Regions from separate parts of the Homo sapiens genome. Here region 2 is linked to region 1. Evidence: promoter capture Hi-C in human tissues and cell types (Jung and others, 2019). All regions are on one chromosome and are shown on one strand. Each heading gives the region's core, a stretch centred on a gene start or on the middle of the fragment in contact. The rest is flanking DNA. Distances are from core to core; before and after follow the strand shown. Region 1 holds the start of DCHS1 (dachsous cadherin-related 1). Region 2 has its middle 16 kb from the start of CAVIN3.

Region 1 (5,140 bases), core at 2,346-4,845:
AAACAACAAAAACAACTCAAGGAGAAAAGAATGGTCAATAATGTCAGCTCCTCCCGAGAGGTCAGGCAGTTAAGGACTTTTGAAAAGATCCTCCAGATTGAGCAGAAGAGATGTTACTTTCTCCTAGGGAAAGCAGTTACATTTGAGGGGCAGGCACAAATGGGAAGTGAGGAAGTAGGAACAGCTATATGCAGAAGACTCTTTCACAAAATGTGACAGTGAAGAAAAGTGAGGAAGCCTCTTAGTTAACGGGGTATTACAGGGTTAAAGAAAGATAGGAGAGGCTGGAGGATCTTTATGTCCTCCCAGGAGGAATGGGAGAAAGGAAGGAACTGGAGACGTGGGAAACACATGGAATAATCAGTTGAGTGAGGTCCCTGTGGAAGAGGAAGGGGATGGGATCCGTAACACAGGTAGAGGATTGGCCTTAAGTAGAAGAGACAGCACTTCGTTCTTATAGGAAGGAAGGAGAAAAGATTGAAGAGGATGCAGATAAAATTTGAGGGAGGAGGCAGAAATCTGAGGGAATTCAAAACAGATGGCCTCAATTTCCTCAGTGAGCCAGAAGACCAGGTTGTCCACTCTTAATTCCTTCCTTTCCTTCACCCCACCATGTCTGCTTTGTCACTGAGCCCTGCTGATCCCACTGCCTAAAGAGCTCTTGAAACCATCCACTTTCTCCTTCTCTCCGGCCACTACTCCAGTTCAGGCCAGTGTTATACCCTCCAGAGTTTCTGCAACAGCCAACTGTCCTTCTTCTCAGGCTCTTTCTCCAGTCTCCACATGGCTGTCAGAGTGGTATTTCTAAAATGAATCTGATCATATCGCTCCAAGCTTCCAATGATTTGGTGACTCTCCATTATTCTTGGGTTAAATGAATTTCTTTCTGTGGCCTCCTAGACCCTGCATGGTCTAAGCCTCCATTTACCTCTCCCACAGACTCTCCCTCTCTCGTCACCTCATGCTGTAAGTGTCAGGCTCACTGAACTGCTTTATCCCTCACACACACACTATTTTCCTTCATGTGGGCTTTTACATGCTGCTCCCTTGGCTTGGCATATTCTCCACCCACTCCATCAAGTTTAAGTTTAAATGCCACTTCCTCCAGAAAGACTCTTCTGACCTCCCTACACTGGCCTAGGTTACTCTGCTGTGTGCTGCTGTGTTACAACACTCACTCCACAGCCTGTAAGCTCCATGAGGATAAGGACCATGTCCATTTTGTTCACACTTGTGCTGCCAACTCTCATCACAATGCCTAGCAGAGTAGGTGCCTAGTATGTGTTTGTTAAATGAATGAATTAGCGTTTTGATTAATTAATCTACTGAAAACAATGGTGTGAGGGATGTGGGGTAATGAGTGTGAAGAAAATAGAAAAAAAATCATCTATTTATTTATGAAGGGCCCAGTTGAGGTTTGAATTTTTTAGAAGTATGAATTTATAGAAGCGTCCCCTGGTGTGGTTGAGAAATCATTCTAGTTAGGGGCAATAATTTGAGGGATGAGTATAGAAGACAAGGAAACACAGTGGCCAAGGAGTGGTTGAAGGGATGATCCTTAGCATATGAGCTGGAAAGAAAGCACAAAGTCAGAAAGGAACAGAGTAGGAGAAAACAAAGAGGTCAAGGGCAAGAGGTCATTATGAGGTCAAAGAGTGTAATGGGAGCGAGAACATCTGAAAGCTGGAAGGATATAGGAGGTTGTGGGTAGAGAGAGGAATGCAAGAGTTTAGAATTTTAAAGGTGGAATAGTTCTACAGAGTGGTCCTGGGAGGGAGGAAGGTAACAGGAGCTAAGGAGGTCAAGAATCTGTGAAGCTGTGGTGTTGAAGGACACTGAGAAACCATGGCAGGATACACTATCCAGATCTCGAAGTTTTCAGGGAACAAGAGGGTATACCTGGGAGATCTACGTATGAGAAGGGGTGAAGGTGTGAGCTTGATAAGTTAAGCAGAGTTTATTCAGAAGTTGGGACAGGTCTTCCTGTGGTGTGCATGCCATCCATGACTGTCTCCTGGGGGTTGTACAAGTGGCTGTGTGGTAAGGGCAACTGTGGCACAGCCTCCTGTTAGTGACAGGCTTCTAGGACACCCACTATGTATGGGCAGCTCCAAGGAAGTAAACCTAATAAGATGTGCTGTGACAGTTGTGACAGTGCTTCTGATGGATGTGGATTGCAGTGACAATGTCTCCTGAGAGGTGCTGGTCTACTTGTTTGTTGCTGGTGACAGTGTTTCTGGAGAGTGTTAGCAGTAACAATGTCTTCCATGGTATGTGTTGGCCTTGACAATGAACCGGTGGGAGTATGTTGGTTGCAGCATTTCTCCTGTGGGTGTGTGTTGTCATGAGAGCATTTTCCGTAGGTGTGTGTTGGCTTGATAGAGTCTGCTGTAGGTGTGTGTTGGTTCTGACTGGGGGTGCTTCCTGGGGGTGGGCTTCCTGGAAGTGTATGATGGCTGTGAGGGTATCTCTTGAGGATGTGTGTTCCCTGGGACTGTGTCCTCTTGTGGGTTGAGTAGGGCTATGACTGTGTCCCTATGGGTATTTGAGAAGTTGACATAAGCGACAATATTTTTCTGGCCTATGACCTTGTGGCTGTGGGCCCAGCCCGCCACACTGAGTTCATTGTGCTTCTAGACCTCCCTCTCCCCACCCCCTCCACGTGGGACCCACGCCTGCGGTGACCTTGCTCTGTCCCCTGCACGGGATTCTGAGCTGGGTATCCCAGACACAAACTCCCAGTTGCTCCAATCTCCCACTCAGAACACGTCTGGGTGACCCCCCCCTCCATCCACTTCAGGCTGTGCCTGCCTCTCCTCTGCTTCTCTGTACTTCTCCCCACTCAGTTTCTTTGTCTCTGTCTCAGTTGGTCTCTGTCACACACCCATCCTCCACATTCTGACACATGGGCTCCCACAGAGCGGGCAACACACCCTCACAGGGACTCGCTCACCATGACACACGGTCATTCTGACCCTCACACCCTCAGAGTGACACGCACATGCACACACAGCCAGAGAGACGCCCAGGGACACACAACCTCCCAGTGACACGCACTGACACACTCCGACGATGCACTGGAACACAACGCTGTCGCACCCCACACCCCCGGCGCACGCTCCCGCCGCCACCCTCCCCGACTCGATGACACACGCACACAAAGACCCCCAGGCCCTGCCCCCACGCTCACGTTCACGCCCGCCCGGGTCCCGCAGGCCCAGGCCCCCCCTCCCCCATTGTCTCCGGCTCAGAACAAAGCCCCCGGCTCCGCCGCCGCTGCCGCAGCCCAGGGGAGGCCGGCGGGCAGGGCGGGCGCGGCCAGACGGGCCGGGCGGGCGCGGGCACTGACCTCCGCGCGACGCGGGCTCCCTCGCCCGGTGCTGGGGCGCCGTCCGGCCGCGGTCAGCCCCCCGGGCAGCGCCCGCTCGCGCGGGGCCTGAGGCCGCGCATCGTCCGCAGTCGCTGTCTCCGAGGCCCGCGATCCCCTCCGGGCAGCCGCCGTCGGTCCGCGCGCCCTTGGCCGTCGATCGGTCCGTCCGCTGACGCCCGGGCGCCGCCTCCTGCACAGCCGCCCCGCCGAGGATGCGAGCTCCGCTGCCGCGGCCCCGCGCCCCCTCCCCTCCCCTCCCCCCGCCCTCCGCGCGGTAACCCGAGCCCCCGCCCCTCCGCCCGCGGAGCCCCCGCCCCCGCCCCCACCCGCGCTCCGCGCCGCCGCCCCCCCTTCCCCCCGGCGCCCGCCCGGCCTCCCTCCGCCCCTCCACTTCCCGGCCCCAGGCCCCGGCTCCGGATCCGGCCCCAGCGCCGCGCCGCGCCCCCGTCCCGGTTCCCTTCCCTTCTCCCCGTCACTTCTCCCGTCCTCTCCTCCCATTCGGTTCTCTACGCCCTCTCGTCTCTTCCCCTTCTCGCCGCTCCCTGCTGCTCACCTCCTCCTCTTCCATCTTCTTTCCATCCCCTATTCCCCTCTTCTCCCTCAGTGCCCTGGTCTCCCTCTCGCCCCTTCTTTTTCCCAACCGTCATCTCCATTCCCCTCTGCCTTTCTCCCATCCTCTTCTTCTCGCCCCATCTCCATCATTTTCTCCCCAGCTCTTCTCCCCTTTCTCTTCTCCTTACCCCTTCTGCTTGATCTCTCTCCAGCCTCTTTACATCAGATTCTCCTTCCCCACCTCTCCTTTTATCCTTTTCTTCCTATCCCTTTCTCCCCGTCTCTTCTCCCCACCTTTCTCCCCATCCCCTTCTCCCTGTGTCTTTCGCCTCACCTCATCATCCCCTTTTCCTCACGCCTTCTCCTCATTCCCTTTTCTCACCCCTGCCCTTTTCACTACCCGCTGTCTCTTCCCCTTCTTCCATCGTAACCTCGGCCTTCTCCCCTGTTAGTCACTTTTCATTATCCCATGATTTCTGTCTCTTTTCTCTCCTTCACCCCCAGGCTCCCTTTCCCCCACTTTCTCTTTATCCCAAATTTGAGGGTAGAGATCGGGAGATATTGGAAAGAAGAGCTTTGGGGATGGTGGTCCCACTCACGATATACTCCCTAGAAAAATTAAGTGAGGAGGAAACCGGGCAGGGAAGTGGGAAGGGGCTCAAAAAACCAACTTGGGAGAGAATATGGGGAGAGGGGAAATCAGACAGAGACAAAGAGCAAGCAATCTTAAAGGAACTGGGAAGAGTTCTGACTCCTGTCCTTCTTCCTTAGGACTGCGAGTAGACTGTGAGAAAAACAGGTTTTCTGGACTTGAGATGTGTACAAATGGCACAAAGAAATCAGGAACTTCTGTGGAGAAGGAACACAGTTTCAGCTGAAGAAGAAGGGAGTGTGATTTTGGAAGAGGAGTGAGGGAGAGACTGGGGTCCTTGATCATATCCACGGCGCTTGGGCAGCTGGGTGGATGGATGGTGGTGAGGCTGGCTGTGCTCCACAAAAGGAGCAGCAGGAGGCTGCAGGGGGTTCGTATGAGGAGATGATGACTGTGACTTGGGGCTGCTGACTTTGAAGTGCTGGTTGGGTAGGTAGGTCTGCAACTTAGAGGAGCGGTCTGGGATGGACATAAATATTTGGGAGTCATCTGCAAATGCCGTATAAGCTTGAATATAGGGTGAAGTTTTTGCTTTTTTGTTTTTCCAAAATCATCCCTCAGGAAAG
Region 2 (5,140 bases), core at 1,614-4,113, 350 kb before region 1:
CATGGTGATTGTGGATGTGTAATGAACAGGGCCCATGATAAGAATGTAATTGAACAATGCTTTTCCACATTCAGCACATCCAGAATCTCAGAATCCTTTACATAATTCAGAATGTATCTTGCCAGAACAAGAGAGACCACATCATAAATGTGAATTCTAAATACACAGCTCTTTTTAAAATCTACCATGACTAATTATAACTGTTGGCTCAACAGATGTACCCCCACTCCATCACCCTTCTTTTTGGAAACACAATACCACTAAGAGCCCCTGCAAGATATCCTCCTGATGGGTCTAAAAAGCCCTCTGCTGACAAGTACCGCCTGAGAATGAGTCTTACACACCTGCTCGGCAGGCTGTGCACATCTCAAATATTCAGGGAAGCAAGGAGGAAGGGGTATGGCCCTCCAGGGTGCTGCTGTCAAGCACCGTAGCAGAGTAACCTACTGGAATTACTTGTAAAACCATCCCCACAAAAGCAAAAATCCATATGCTGCCTCTTGTCGTTCCAGAGGCAATAGTTAAGTTGTACACACGGAAAAGACCCAAATTCGGGGTTGTCGCTTCCTGATCATTTTTGTCCTTTTTTGTAACTGTGCCACCCAAATGAGCAATGAGCAATATACCAAAAACCCGAGGCTGTCCACATGGCAAGATCTGATCCGAGTTCCATTCCAATGTTGTTCAAAGGTGATTGTTTTCCAGGGTTGTAGTCTCTTACAGCCATAGGGGGATGGAGGGCAACAATCACTGAACTCAAAGGCAGCCCTGGTTCCTTTGATCACTGCGAAGCCATCTAGGAAGTAGCTCCTGACAGACCCTTCCCTCCCTGGAAGGCGCGGCCTGCTAGATAACCCCTCAACTGCAGGCCAAATAGCACAGTATTTGGATGGAGAGGAGGCTCCATTAGAGGGGTGATAGAGGCAGCTCTCTTTCTGGTAAAAATTAAAGCTTATATAGGGCCATAAGGATGAATGGAAGCATAACATACTGAAAGTGGTCAGTGTCTTGTGTTTTATTTTCCTTATCTGCTCAGGGCTGTTGTTTTGAGAGCTGGCCCAGGACCCACATAATGCTGGCTCAGAGCCATATTAAAAGATATGAGGAGTCTCCCCTTATTTTCCAGAAAAGCCTTAGCTTCTGTAAACTTCAGGGAAGATTAAAGAGTCCATGAGGTAGCTGTCTAAGGTTTTGCCCATATGCCCAAGAGCTTCCCACTGTAGATCGTGTTAGCCACCTCAATCCCCAACCCCCAACCTCAGATAATCGAAGTCCACAGGACATGTTGATGCCCATTACCTGACCAGAAAAATGCTTTCTTTGTCCTGTGTTTAACTCTATTTTTTTTTCTTTTTCTTTTTTGAGATGGAGTCTTGCTCTGTCACCCAGGCTGGAGTGCAGTGGCACAATCTCGGCTCACTGTAACATCTGCCTCCCAGGTTCAAGTGGCTCTTCTGCCTCAGCCTCCCAAGTAGCTGGGATTACAGGTGCCCACCAACTTGCCCAGCTAATTTTTGTATTTTTAGTAGAGATGTGGTTTCACCATGTAGGCCAGACTGGTCTCGAACCCCTGACCTCAGGTGATCCGCCCACCTCAGCCTCCCAAAATACTGGGTTTACAGGCGTGAGCCACCATGTCCGGCCTACCTCTATTCTTTCTAATAGTTCTTGTTAACTTTGATAACATGTCTGCAATAAGCTTTGAATTACTGTAATGTTTGAAATGTACACTGGGAGAGTTCCTATATACAACTCAGCTGCCATCCATACCATGAGAATAGTGATTTGTTTGGCTTTTCTTTAACCCATTAGAGTTGAACAAAATATTCAAGACTCACTTCTGTTTTTTTCAGGAGTCTCTGAATATCCCCTCTTGACCACCTTCTGGGGTATTAAATTAAACAGAAACAAAATTTATGGAAACATTCAACAGCCCTAATGATCTATAAGCCTTTGCCAGTGCTTAATCTGTTCCAGAGGTATATCTACCTCCTCAAATCACTCTTAAGGGGCCCCAGGTACCACCCAGCTTCTCCTAAGCATTTTAGTACTTTTCCCTGTCGCAGAAGCCTTCTCTGCCCCCTCCGCTTTGTCCTGCCTACACTGAACAAATCACCAAACCAGGCACTATGGACAGTGACTTGGCTGTACAGGTGCCCTTTGCATAACAATGATGTTCGTGAGAGGCATGACTCTTAAGCCGACATGAGTCTCTGTGACTTTAAATCCTCCTTGTTCCTTTCAGACAAACTGCTGACAAGCCTGGTCAGCATGCACTGACCTGAATGCCCTTTTCTACATCATTAAACCCCTTTTTAACTTCCCGCTGTGGGGATGATGTGTGTCTGCACCGGATCCACACTATGTTTCTTCCCCCTTTCTGTTTAATCACACCTAAATCAAAAGCAGAAAATCACAGTTAAAGCTAATTTGTATCATATTAAATATTAAAATCCATATTAAAATTAATGACATGGTGATATGGTGAGACCCCTTAATAACACTACCATGTGACAGTTTTCTATTTTCACTTACTATTGCTATTAACTTCGTGTTGGCATCAGTTGTTCTCTACAGGTGACAAGTGCATTTGATAGCAGCATATATATGTAAATAACTTACGAATGACAAAATTTTTATAATTTTTTTAAAAATACAAAATTAAACCCTCTAAAAAACTAATTTTTAAGATATCTCTGAAAAATACACAGATATATACGTACTCCTACCCTTTTGTGTCTTACCCTAAAAATTACTCTTTGCAAATAATCTTATAAGCTTTCACTCCCTTTTATTTTGCTTTGCTGGTGGCTCTGATGGTATATGTTCACTGGTGCCTTTTTGGGGGAACATTCCAGAACCCTGTTCTATTATACCACAGACACAGAAAGGTGTTCTGATAATGAGTACTAGTATTTTGGAAAATAAAACAAAAAACAAAATTTCACCACATCCTTGTGAGAATATTTCTACACATTCCTGGAGTTTGTCTGATGTGCTATCATTGGCAAGGTAGAAGGTCATCCTAAATTAACTTGGATCTTTTTCCATTATGGATCATATGCAGAAGCATGAATTGTAGAGTCTTCACAACAGAAATAGCTTGTTCTGTATTACAGGACTCCAGAGTGAGTGAGGGATTCATCCTGACTAACAATAAATATTGTTACATTAATGCTTCAGCACAGTCTCTTATATTGAGTACTGTAGAGAAAGAGGCATAGAATAAGTTTATTACTAACTAAGAAAAAAATAATAAACTCAACTTTCTCTTTACCAAACAATTTATCCGGAATTACAACCTGTATCATTGCAATGTTTTTATGAATTCTAGGCAATATCTTCTAACTTAAAAAATAAGTAAAACTAAAAAAAAAAAAAAAGAAAAAGAAGTGGTAAAACTTAAAGCTCCCCCATCTCACCCTTCATCACATACTAGCAGAATATCTTTCACCAATTCTTAACTATAGATACCCATGTAAGAAATAGTCTGTTTAATGGTCACATCAGGCATCAATCAAATGTTGAGGTTTACCAATCTTGGCAATATTGACATTTTGGATAGGCTAATTATTTGTTGTAAGGTACTATCATGTGCATTGTAAGACGTTTAACAACATCCCCGATGTCTGTCTACTAGGTGCCAGTTGTGACACTAAAAAGTGTCTCCAGACATTGGTAAATGTCCCCCCTGGGGTCGGTGGTGGAGGGTATGCCTGCAGTTGAGAACAACTGGTCTAGAGAAAAGAGGGTAATTGACCTAGTTTAGATGGAGTGCATAGTGCTGGGTCAGTTCGCTGTGAATCAGCGAGCAAGGATCAGTAAAGTACAGCATAATTCTATTTGAATATATGTGGCTGCTCCTTTAATCAGTGCTGAAAAGTCAATCTGCTAAGTGAGTGTTTACCACACTGCGGAGATTCCCTCTAGGGTTTGGCTTTTGTAGCTTTGCTCTTTGTTGAAGTTGTGCTATGATCTGAATGTTTGTGTCCCCCAAAAACTCATATGTTGAAATCTTAACAGACAAGGTGATGATATTACAAGGTGGCACCTTTGGGAGGTGATTAGAGATTAGATCATGAGAATTAAAGGGATTAATGTCCTTATAAGAAAGGCCTAAGAGAGAGTCCACAGCCCTTCTACCATGTGAAGACATAGAGAAAAAGCACCATCTGTGAACTAGAGAGCAGACCCTTACCAGATGCTGGATCTGCCAGCATCTTGATTTTGGACTTCCCAGTCTCCAGAAGTATGAGAAATAAATTTCCGTTGTTTATAAGCTACTCAGTTTATTGTATTTTCTTATAGTAACCACAACAGACTAAAACATGCTATTAAGCTTTTTAATTTATTATATTTATTTTTAATTTTTGCCTGTAGTTACTTCTTGTTTTTGAAGTTTTTCCCCTGTTTTAGGTATTTCTATTATCCTTACAGTTTTAGTATTCTGCCATCTTCAAGTAAGCTTTAAGTTGATTTTTGTTCAATGTGAGTTAGAATGTTGTTTTTTTCTATTTACTTTCCTCTCATTAGTATAACCTGAAATCTGCTAGGCAAAATGTGTGGGTTTTATTGTGTCTGTATTTCAGGAAGAAATAAAGGGTGGATGGTCATGTCCATATATTTGAGGCTCACTTGTTTATAAACCTTGGAAGTCGAGAGCCAAGTTAGCAGCTAGTTGAAAAGGATTAGAAGAACAAACCTCTCACTATCATAAAGTCCAATGTATTTAACAGTCTGGCTGGGTAATTAATGCTTAAACGTCAAAATGAGTCTGCTTGAAGTATTCTCTTAGATCCCCCAACCCACTGATTTAGAGAAAAGATCAAGATTTCAGCCCTTCCCTTGATAGAAATGTTGCAAGCTGAGTTTGAGAAACTCAGAAGAGAAATCCTAAAACATGAGAACTTTCTTTTGAAATAGAATGTTTGAAAGAGCTGAGAGCTTTCAGAGACATTGTGAGATCAGCAAGATTTCCCCTTTGAAATCTTGCATTCATCCCCAAACCTAGTTGGAGCAAGGGCAGAAGGCCCCTCTCTATAGCAGAATATCAAAGCACTGGCAATGGTAGAGTGGCAGAAAGCTTGAGGAACACAGATTCCTAGTGACAGAGCAAATTGCTTCCAGGAAAGTAAGCAGA

What was found. The method cuts DNA at HindIII sites, captures the fragments that hold promoters and counts their contacts. A contact is called where the count stands out against the background at its distance.
Region 2: a contact is called between a fragment that was not itself captured here and the fragment with the promoter of DCHS1 in region 1, in 1 of the 25 tissues and cell types used here (spleen).

What each region holds. Positions count from the first base shown.
Region 1 is chr11:6,652,214-6,657,353 of GRCh38, forward strand. DCHS1 (dachsous cadherin-related 1) reads right to left here and starts at 3,596. Exons shown (of 21, transcript NM_003737.4): 1 at 3,350-3,596. The HindIII fragment of the contact is 6,359 bases long and covers 1-5,140 here.
Region 2 is chr11:6,301,648-6,306,787 of GRCh38, forward strand. No RefSeq gene overlaps it. Among named protein-coding and RNA genes, the nearest start is that of CAVIN3, 16 kb to the right of the region's middle. RefSeq lists an enhancer at 1,894-2,612. The HindIII fragment of the contact is 3,077 bases long and covers 1,326-4,402 here.